Linked DNA regions of Homo sapiens: region 1 is linked to region 2. The links are contacts of gene promoters, found by promoter capture Hi-C in blood cells and fetal thymus (Javierre and others, 2016). All regions are on one chromosome and are shown on one strand. Each heading gives the region's core, a stretch centred on a gene start or on the middle of the fragment in contact. The rest is flanking DNA. Distances are from core to core; before and after follow the strand shown. Region 1 has its middle 21 kb from the start of TBRG4. Region 2 holds the start of TMED4 (transmembrane p24 trafficking protein 4).

What was found. Contacts are between HindIII fragments. The CHiCAGO score rates a contact against its expected background, and 5 or more counts as called.
Region 1: a fragment that was not itself captured here is called in contact with the fragment with the promoter of TMED4 in region 2 in 1 of 17 cell types (naive CD4 T cells); the score reaches 5.4 in naive CD4 T cells.

The regions. Positions count from the first base shown.
Region 1 is chr7:45,130,750-45,135,322 of GRCh38, forward strand. No RefSeq gene overlaps it. Among named protein-coding and RNA genes, the nearest start is that of TBRG4, 21 kb to the left of the region's middle. RefSeq lists an enhancer at 3,072-3,572. The HindIII fragment of the contact is 5,554 bases long and covers 1-4,573 here.
Region 2 is chr7:44,580,341-44,584,933 of GRCh38, forward strand. It overlaps TMED4 (transmembrane p24 trafficking protein 4), which reads right to left and starts at 1,891. Exons shown (of 5, transcript NM_182547.4): 1 at 1,707-1,891; 2 at 1,383-1,483; 3 at 1,109-1,234; 4 at 753-899. The coding sequence starts at 1,866. RefSeq lists silencers at 1,515-1,614, 2,015-2,174 and an enhancer at 2,265-2,374. The HindIII fragment of the contact is 9,471 bases long and covers 1-4,396 here.

The DNA of each region.
Region 1 (4,573 bases), core at 585-3,084, 550 kb after region 2:
AAATGCGACTTATGTGCACACTGTCTCCCCCTCCTTTTTTTTTTTTTTTTTCCATTTGGGGAACATCCATTTAGCTCAGCCAAACTGAGCTAGTTCTGTGAGCTCAGTTTGGCTGGGTTTTAATGACACACGCCTGCTTCTGAGTGGCGGCTTAGTCCCCTCGGTATGGATGTGTCCACATAATTGCTAGTCTCCTATTGATGGACATTTAGGTTGTTTCTGATTCTTTGCTACCACAGAAGACCCCAGCTTTCGGCATGTGGGCAGGGAGCTCTGCAGGGTACCAGTGTAGAGGCGGAGATGCTGGGCCAAAGGGTCCATGTTTCGCCCACATGGGAGGCCCCGCCCAAGTGTCCTCCAAGCATCTGGCCCGATTCCCAGTCCCTGCTGGCACACCTGGGTATGCAGGGCTGGTCCCCGACACCTCATGAGCAGACACGCTCATCCTGCCCACTGGGTAGATAGGTCGATGGGTGATGGTGGAGGCTTTTATTTTTACTTTTTATTATGATAATTTTAAACATACAGCAAAGTAAAAATAATAGTTCAATAGGTACTCACAGACCGATGGTCTAGATTAACCTTGTCAACATTTTGTCGGACTCATGTTACTATTGTTTGTGTTGTTGTTGGAATTTAAATCTGAAACATCGTGTTGTTTCAACCCCAACTACTTTCTTTTTTTTTTGAGACAGAGTCTCACTGTCACCCGGTTTGGAGTGCAGTGGTGCAATCTCAGATCACTGCAACCTCTGCCTCCTGGGTTCAAGCAATTCTCCCTGCCTCAGACTCCCGAGTAGCTGGGATTACAGGCTCCCACCACCACACCCGGCTAATTTTTGTATTTTTTAGTACAGACGGGGTTTTGCCATGTTGGCCAGGCTGGTCTTGAACTCCTGACCTCAGGTGGTCCACTCGCCTCAGCCTCCCAAAGTGCTGGGATTACAGGCATGAGCCACCACGCCTGGCCAATCCCCTACTACTTTCATATGAAGTTGGAAATCCCAGGGCTGTTTTCCTACAGATAAAATTATTCTACGCGTAAAGTAACTGCTAGTTCCATGAGCTCAGGTTGGCTGGGTCTTTCCTTCTCAGTGGTGTCCAGCCTCTGCAGTCCTCCTTCAAACTGCCCCTGCACCCCAGCTCCCCCAGCCTCCCTCCTGTTTCTTGTCCCTCTATAGTCCTCACTCCTCAGGGAATGTCTATGGCACTGCCACTATCCCCTTTCTCTGCTCTCCCCTCCCCTCATCCTGTGGGAAGCATCCGCCCACGCTCCCTGAGCCCCTGCCCTAGCCCCCACCCCTGCATCCCTGGCAGCAGCTCCCAGGCACAACCAGGGCCCTGCCTGGTCCGGAGCACGCCCATCTGTTCAGCCTTCAGAGGCCTTGGACCCACATCTGCCCACTGTTGCCAATGCAGAACTTGGCCTCCTCCCACATCTCCTTTCCCTGGGAATGGTTCCTCACAGCCAGAGACTTGGAGGGCCTCCCTTTTGTGTTTCTCCATCTAATCAGTTACCAAGAGGTTGGGCCACTGGTGGATGCCCCTCCAAAACCCTCTTGAGTGTGTTCCTGTCAGCTCTTCTGGGCTGCTGCCCTGGGATGGGCTGTTGTGGCATCGGCCACTGCAACAACCGCCTTAACACACTTGTCTGACTACAGACGATCTGATTTGTTCATGAGATGTCCTGTATACTGTCCTCCAGAGCACAGGACCTCTCTCATCTTGTTGAACAGCACATTTGCAGCATCTGGGGCATTAGCCTTTAATGGGAAGGAAGGGAGGGAAAAAAGGAGGAAGGGAGGGAGGAAGGAGGAGAGGGAGGGAGGGAGGGAAGGAGAGAGGGGAGGAGGGAGGGAGGAGGTGGGAGAGGGAGGGAAGGAGGCAGGGATGGAGGGAGGGAAGACTATATCAGGCCTCCCCACTTTCCAGTTAGTTGTCAATGCTCTGTCCAGCATGGCCTTTCACGCCTGGGCATGATCCTATCACAACCCCATCTGAAACTCTTCGGCGGTTTCCCATTACCTGGGGGGAGAAGTCCAAATGCTGGGGTGTGGCATTCATGCCCTTCATGACCTTGAATGAAGTGGCCTAGAGGAAGCGTTTGAGTGCATGCCTGTGTGAATCTAGTCTTGGCTGTGCTAGTTGTGTGACCTTGAGCAGCTTACTCCTTCCTCATTTGTAAAATGGGGTAATAATGAGACCTATTCCAACTACCAGAGGGAGCTGGGGCCCGGGGGGCCAGGAGGGAACACATGTTCTGTGTGGCTGGTGGGGGGCAGTGGGGAGGAGTGAGAGGTGTTGGCAGGACAAGGAGTTCGGGTTAGGTGCACAGCTGCCCTTAGAGCCCTCAGGGCCAAATGGAGAAGCCAGAGGGTTCCAGGAATGCCATTCCTCCAGGCTCACCAGCCCCAGAGGCAAGGAATGTAGGGTTCTTCTTGCGCCCAGGGGAAGGTTGTTGGCCCCTGGCTTGCCTGGCTCCAGCCTATCATCTTCTAAGATGCACAGGCTCTTTCACTCCCCAGCAGCTCCTGTGTGCCCAGGATTGATGGGGAAATGAGGCCCCGGGTTGTGGTCATCTGGAGCACACTGTCCCCACTCCTGGTCCTATGGGGTCAGCTGGGTCAGGATTTTCTCCAAAACTCTGAGTAAAGACAGGGATGGAGGAGGCCATGCTATTCCACAGGTGTGTCCTGGTCTTGTGGTGACTGCCACAGGCCCTGGGTACATGACCTGCCTTCAGCCCTTGCAATCAGGGTCACGGCCTCTGATCACGTGAAGGTCTCATGCTTGTCATCAGGGTCACAACCCTGGTGCAGGTCCTCAGCCCTTGTCATCAGAGTCAGGACTCCTGGGTGAATGTCCTGTCCTTGTCATTGGGGTCATGACCCTTCGGTGAAGGTCTCACTCTCATTATAGGGGTCCCGACCCTGGGTGCAGGTCCTGCCCTCAGCCCTCTGCCCTCATCATGGTCTGTCTGCTCTGACACCCTTCCTACATCTCCTGTCTCACCAAGTCATGTCCCTGCATACAGTTGCTACACCTCCTGCCTCTAGCTCCTGCTTAGAAAGTTCTCTCCTCCCATCTTTCAAAGCTCTACTGCCACCTCCTACTCCAGGGCTGCAAGGCTGTGAGGCTGCAGTGGGCCCTCTGCCCCTTCTCTTGTACCTAGCAGAACCGTGGGCCTCATGGGCCTGTGGTCATTGGCAGGTGGGTTGGATGTCCCACTGGCTCTGTTTCTGCCCTGGACCACAGCAGGTAGAGCAGGGCTGCAGAGGATGCTGGGCGCAGCCCTGGTGGCTAAGGCCTCATGGTGTCATCTCTGTCCAGCTTGTTCACTTGTGGTCCATTTGCTAACACTTGTGTGTGGCCAGGGGCACAGGCACATGAAATGCAGACCCCAGGTGCATACCCACAGAGGCTCCTCCCCAGCTGCGAGGCTTCTGACAGGGAGTCGCCCCCGAGCTTTCAGAAGAGTCCAGCGCTACACAAGGACGCAAGGAGCATGGATGGTCCTAGGCTGAGATATCATGCAGCCTGGCAGGTGCAGAGAAACAGGGTCTTTTTGGGGAGTCATTTTCTCCAACACTGAGGTGGGAGAGGGCTGGGGAGGCTGGCAGGGCTGGACCATGGAGAGCCATGGGGGCCAGGCCAGGGGTCAGGGTGGCAAGGCAGGATCAGACACGTTTTAGAAAGGCCCTTTGCCAGTTGACAGGGAGGTGGGAGGAGAGGAGAAGGGGAGCCTGGACAAAGGTAGGCACTGGGCCTGGGAGGAAGGTATGTGGGACCGGGGCCTGGGTCTCCTGGGCTGAGAAGGGAAAGTCCAGCAGGGGTGGGGTTGTAGAAGGGAGGGCAGCAGGCCTGGCCTCTACATCTCCATAAACTCTTGATTTCCAGCTGATGCCCCTACTCTGCAGAAACACTGACCCTGGGGAGATTCTGAGGCTCAGGTCAATGCCTTGGGTAGAGAATGAGGAGGTAATGAGCCCTGAATGGAGTGGCTTTTCACTGTTCCAGCCAAGGGGCCCCCTTCTTTACAGCTGGGGGCCTTGAAGCTCAGCTTGGTCAGGGACTTGCCAGTATCACACTGGGATTGGGGAGTGGCCCTGGGACTACCCTTGGCCTCTGGAGCCCCAGGGCCAGGCTGGGAGTCAGAGCACCACCCTGCTCTGTCTTCTTAGAAAAGTGGCCCAGACTGCTGTCCCACACTACTCATGTCGTACAGGGTCAGAGACCCACAGTGGGCCTAAGGCCCTACTGAGGCCTGGTTCTGAGATGAGGTTTCTGGGAGAAGCCCCCTTGGCCGTCCTTTCTCTAGCGGTGGCAGAGCTGGGTGCTCTAGCCTACTAGAAAGATTTCAGTGGCTCCCGCCATGCTCTGCAGACATGGCGGTCCTTCAGCCTACTTACCCCCATGACATTTTGCAATTTTATTTTCTTTGCTAACATTAGAGGACCATTAAAAGCTAGCTTTCTGGTGTGGGAATACAGAAAGACCACCCACATGAGAACAGGCAAAATCTCTTCATCTAGAGCTGCTCTAGCAAGGGGGCTGGCCGCCATCACTGCATTTG
Region 2 (4,593 bases), core at 641-3,140:
GGTGGCACTTGCCTGTAATCCCAGCTACTTGGGAGGCTGAGGCAGGAGAATCGCTTGAACCTGGGAGGCGGAGGGTGCAGTGAGCCGAGATGGCGCCACTGCGCTCCAGCCTGGGCAACAGAGCGAGACTCCATCTCAAAAACAAAACAAAATAAGTACAGATTTTTAGTTTGAGAAGATGAAAAAGTTCTGGAGCTGGATGATGGTGTTGGTAGCACAACATTATGAAGGCACTTAATACCACTGAACTATATAGACAGTTAAAATGACACATTTGGTGTTATATTTTACCACAATAAAATGTTTTGATAAAAAAGCAAAACAGGCAGGGCGCGGTAGCTCACACCTGTAATCCCAGCACTTTGGGAGGCTGAGGCGGGCGGATCACTTGATGTCGGGAGTTCGAGACCAGCCTGACCAACGTGGAGAAACCCCCGTCTCTACTAAAAGTACAAAATTAGCCAGGCATGGTGGCGCATGCCTGTAATCCCAGCTACTCAGGAGGCTGAGGCAGGAGAATCGCTTGAACCTGGGGAGGCGGAGGTTGCAGTGAGCCAAGATCATGGCATTGCACTCCAGCATGGGCAACAAGAGTGAAACTCCGTCTCAAAAACAACAAACAAACAACCTATCTAAACCAATACTTCTCATTCCATTCTCTGCAGAGCTGATCTCCCAAGCAGAAACTTGAGTAGGTATAGTGGGTATAAAGGTCAACTGCCCTCTCAAATTACAAGGAGATATGCACTTGCCCTTTGGTAATCCTGCTCCTTCTGAATCTGTTCCACCTGATCAAGCAACTGGCGGGCGCGGAGCTGTAGCTCCGTCAGCTTATCTTTTGCAGCAATCTCAGGGTAGTTGTTGGCATGCTCCCCAACCTGGATGTCGAGATGCACCCGCTACAAGGAAACATGGAATGTATGAGTGGTGGGGCCTCCAGTTGTCTGTTCCAGGGTATGGAACCCACTATTGTCCCTGGCTGTGGAGCAGAAGGCAACATCTGTCTCCCCAATTCTGACTGTGCTACAAAGTTTCACAATCTTGATAAATCAAAATTTGGAAACAAGTGAGAGATTCTAAGCTGAAGCCAAAGAGAAAATCCTCTTACCAGTTTGCCACCAGCGAAGAGAGCCATCCTGGTAGAATTGGAGTGCAGACAGATTTGATGGTCACCGGGCGTGTGGGAGGTGAACGTGAAGCGGCCCTCCGAGCCGTACTGCCGGGACAGCACCACCTGCAACATATGTGAGTGAAGGCCCCACCTTTATACCGCAGGCTCTCCAAGTGCAAGTTCCTGTCCCTTGAGGCCTCCTCCAGGCAGTGCTTTACACCCCACGGGAGCTCCACTGAAGAACGGCTGCGTGGGCCAACGCCAGCCTTACCTTGCCGTCGGGGTCCTTCACTTCCACGTGCATGCCCAGGCCAGGGGTCGAGGGCAGGAAGACCTCCTTCTGCTTATCCCACATCTGGGTACGATAGTTGCCTGCGGGGCAGACACATAGTCACGACCGGCCCTAGTGGGCCGCCTCTCCGCCCGGCCCCCTCCGACGTGCGGCCCGGAGCTCTAGGCAGGGGGCCTGGCGTCCTCGGGGCACCCTCAGGCTAGGTACTGGGGGAGCCAGCGACCCGGCTGGGCTCGGGAGGAGGGAGCGCCGCCGAGGGCTGAGCTGGGTACAAAGGGCCTCCCCACCCTCAGCCCGCCTGACCGATGACCATGGTCTCGTCGGGGATTTCCTCGATGAAACAGCGCTTCTCGGTCTCGCCGATGTGGAAGTAGAGCCCCTGGGCGCCTGTGGCGCACAGCGCGAGAAGCAGCAGGGCCTGCCGCCCCATCGCCCGCAGAGGCCCAGCCCCGACACCTGCCATCGCGCCTCAGCCCCTAAGCGCCTGCGCACATTTGCGCATCGCTCTGCGCCTGCGCGCCACCCTAGCGACCCTGAGAGTTAGGGGAAGAGGACGCCTGCGCAGTGATATGTACTCGCCGTCTCCTGCAACTCCATCCGTACCGAACACTGCCGCGCCCCGCCCCCTCACACAGCCCGGCGCCCGCCTACCCCCGCAACGAGAGTAGAGGGCGCATGCGCAATGACGTTCGCCCTTAATTTCTCGCCCCTTACCCCGCAGCTTACCTCCGGCATCTCGCAGGGGAGGCACGCCTGCGCAGTCACGCCCGCCCTCGGCCCCAGTCAGCGATTTGGGTCTCGGAGCACCAAGGAGACGGTGGACGGAATCTGACCAGGCTTGGTGGCTACGATGGCCTGAAGCGTGCCTTTTGGGTTCTCAGCTCGGGCTCACAAGTGTTTTCTGTGCTAAATACAAAAAGCCCTGTGATGTTTTGCTTTGCGTGTCCACCTATCTGACTCGTAAGAACCGAGGCTGAATCCAGACCCACACTCTGTCACGTCGGGAGAGCCTGCCGCGGCGAGCCTCTGCGAGCGGGCATTTCTTGGGTGGGGACCAAAAGCCCAGTGCTGCCATAGTTTCGGATCATTCTTTTAAGAAGCTGGGGCCGGGCGCGGTGGCTGGCACCTGTAATCCCAGCACTCTGGGAGGCTGAGGCGGGCGGATCCCTTGAGCCCAGGAGTTCGGGACCAGCCTGGGCAACATGGTGAAACCCCCGTCTCTACAAAAAATTAACCGGTGTGGTGGTGTGCGCATGTAGTCCCAGCTACTTGGGAGGCTGAGGCAGGAGAATCGCTTGAACCCAGGAGGTCGAGGATGCATTAAGCAGTGATCGCGCTCCAGCCTGGGCGACCGAGGGTGATACCTTGTCTTAAAAAAAAGGTGGGAGAGTGGAACGAAAACTTGGAATAAGTAGGGTCATGGAGCTTGTTTACATCCCCTAGTTACAGCACATCCTTTTGAAAGTGAAAAACAAACTGGAATGTTACTTAGTGGGCATGGAATCGAAGCAACGGAAGGTTAAAACTGTTTTTATCAAGGCCAGGCGGGCGCGGTGGCTCACGCCTGTAATGCTAACACTTTGGGCGGCCAAGGCTGGTGGATCATCTGAGGTTAGAAATTCGAGACCAGTTGGGCCAACAAGGTGAAACCCCCGTCTCTACTAAAAATACATTTTATCAACAGAATTTCGAAACTTTTATATAATAGAATAATTACAATGAACTTTCATAAAGAACTTGAGCATACCTGGATTTTGGTATCCGTAGGGGTCCAGGAATTATCCCCCTTGGATAATAACGGAGGGCTGTACTCATCATCCAACTTCAACAACAGTTTGCTGCCTTTCTCATTTCATGTATCCCTTTCTGCATTTTTTTTTGAAGTGCTGTATATTAAAGCAAATCCTGGACATCATGTCATTTCACCTATAAATACGTCAGTGTGTGTCTCTAACAGATAAGGACTTTATACTATTATCACACCCACCAAAATTTTAAAAATTATTTAACATCACTTAATACCTAGTATGTGTTTAATTTTCCCCATTGCCTTAAAAAATTTTGTACATTAGATATTTAGGGTCCAAACAAGGTTTACTTACTGCATTTCATACAAATATATGTCTCTTAATATATAACAATTTTGGCTGGGCACAGTGGCTCATGCCTGTAATCCCAGCACTTTGGGAGGCTGAGGTGGAAGGATCACTTGAGGTCAGGAGTTTGAGACCAGCCTGGCCAACATGGTGAAACCCTGTTTCTACTAAAAATACAAAAATTAGCCAGGTGTGGTGGTGCACACCTGTAATCTCAGCTACTTGGGAGGCTGAGGCAGGAGAATTGCTAGAATCAGGGAGGTGGAGGTTGCAGTGGGCTGAGATGATGCCACTGTACTCCAGCCTAGGCAACAGAGTGAGATTCTATCTCAAAACAAACAAAAACAGGGCCGGGCGCAGTGGCTCACACCTGTAATCCCAGCACTTTGGGAGGCCAAGGTGGGCAGATCACGAGGTCAGGAGTTCGAGACCAGCCTGGCCAATATGGTGAAACCCTACCTCTACCAAAAATACAAAAATTAGCTGGGTGTGGTGGTGCTCACCTGTAGTCCCAGCTACTTGGGAGACTGAGGCAGAAGAATCGCTTGAACCCAGGAGGCAGAGGTTGCAGTGAGCCGAGATCATGCCACTGCACTCCAGCCTGGGTGAGAGAGAGACTCGTGTCCAAAAAAAAAAAAACAAACCATATAACAACATATATATATATTATACATATTATATATATATTATATATATAAATTTCCCCTCTCTTTTTGTTGTTTGTTATTCATGGCATTTACTTATTGAAGAAACTGGGTCATTTGACCAACAGAATTTTCCACTTTCTGGGTTTTGCTGATTGTATCTTCAGGTGTCATTTAACGTTTTTTGTCCCTGGTATGTCCTGTAATCACAGTTAATTCTAGAGTCAGGGGAGGTTTACAGTGAAACTAATGAAGCTTAATCTTCAGGCCCTCCCTTGCATAGACCCCCGTACCTAATTTCGCATTTATAATTTTGTGTCTTTTTCTTAAAGAGGACTGTGAAATTTGTATAGTTTAAGGCCCCACAAAGCTTGGATTTGCCCCTGGCTAGAAGCTTCATTAGGTTTAGGTGTAATGTTGAGGTTTGGGTTTTTTTGTTTTGTTTTGTTT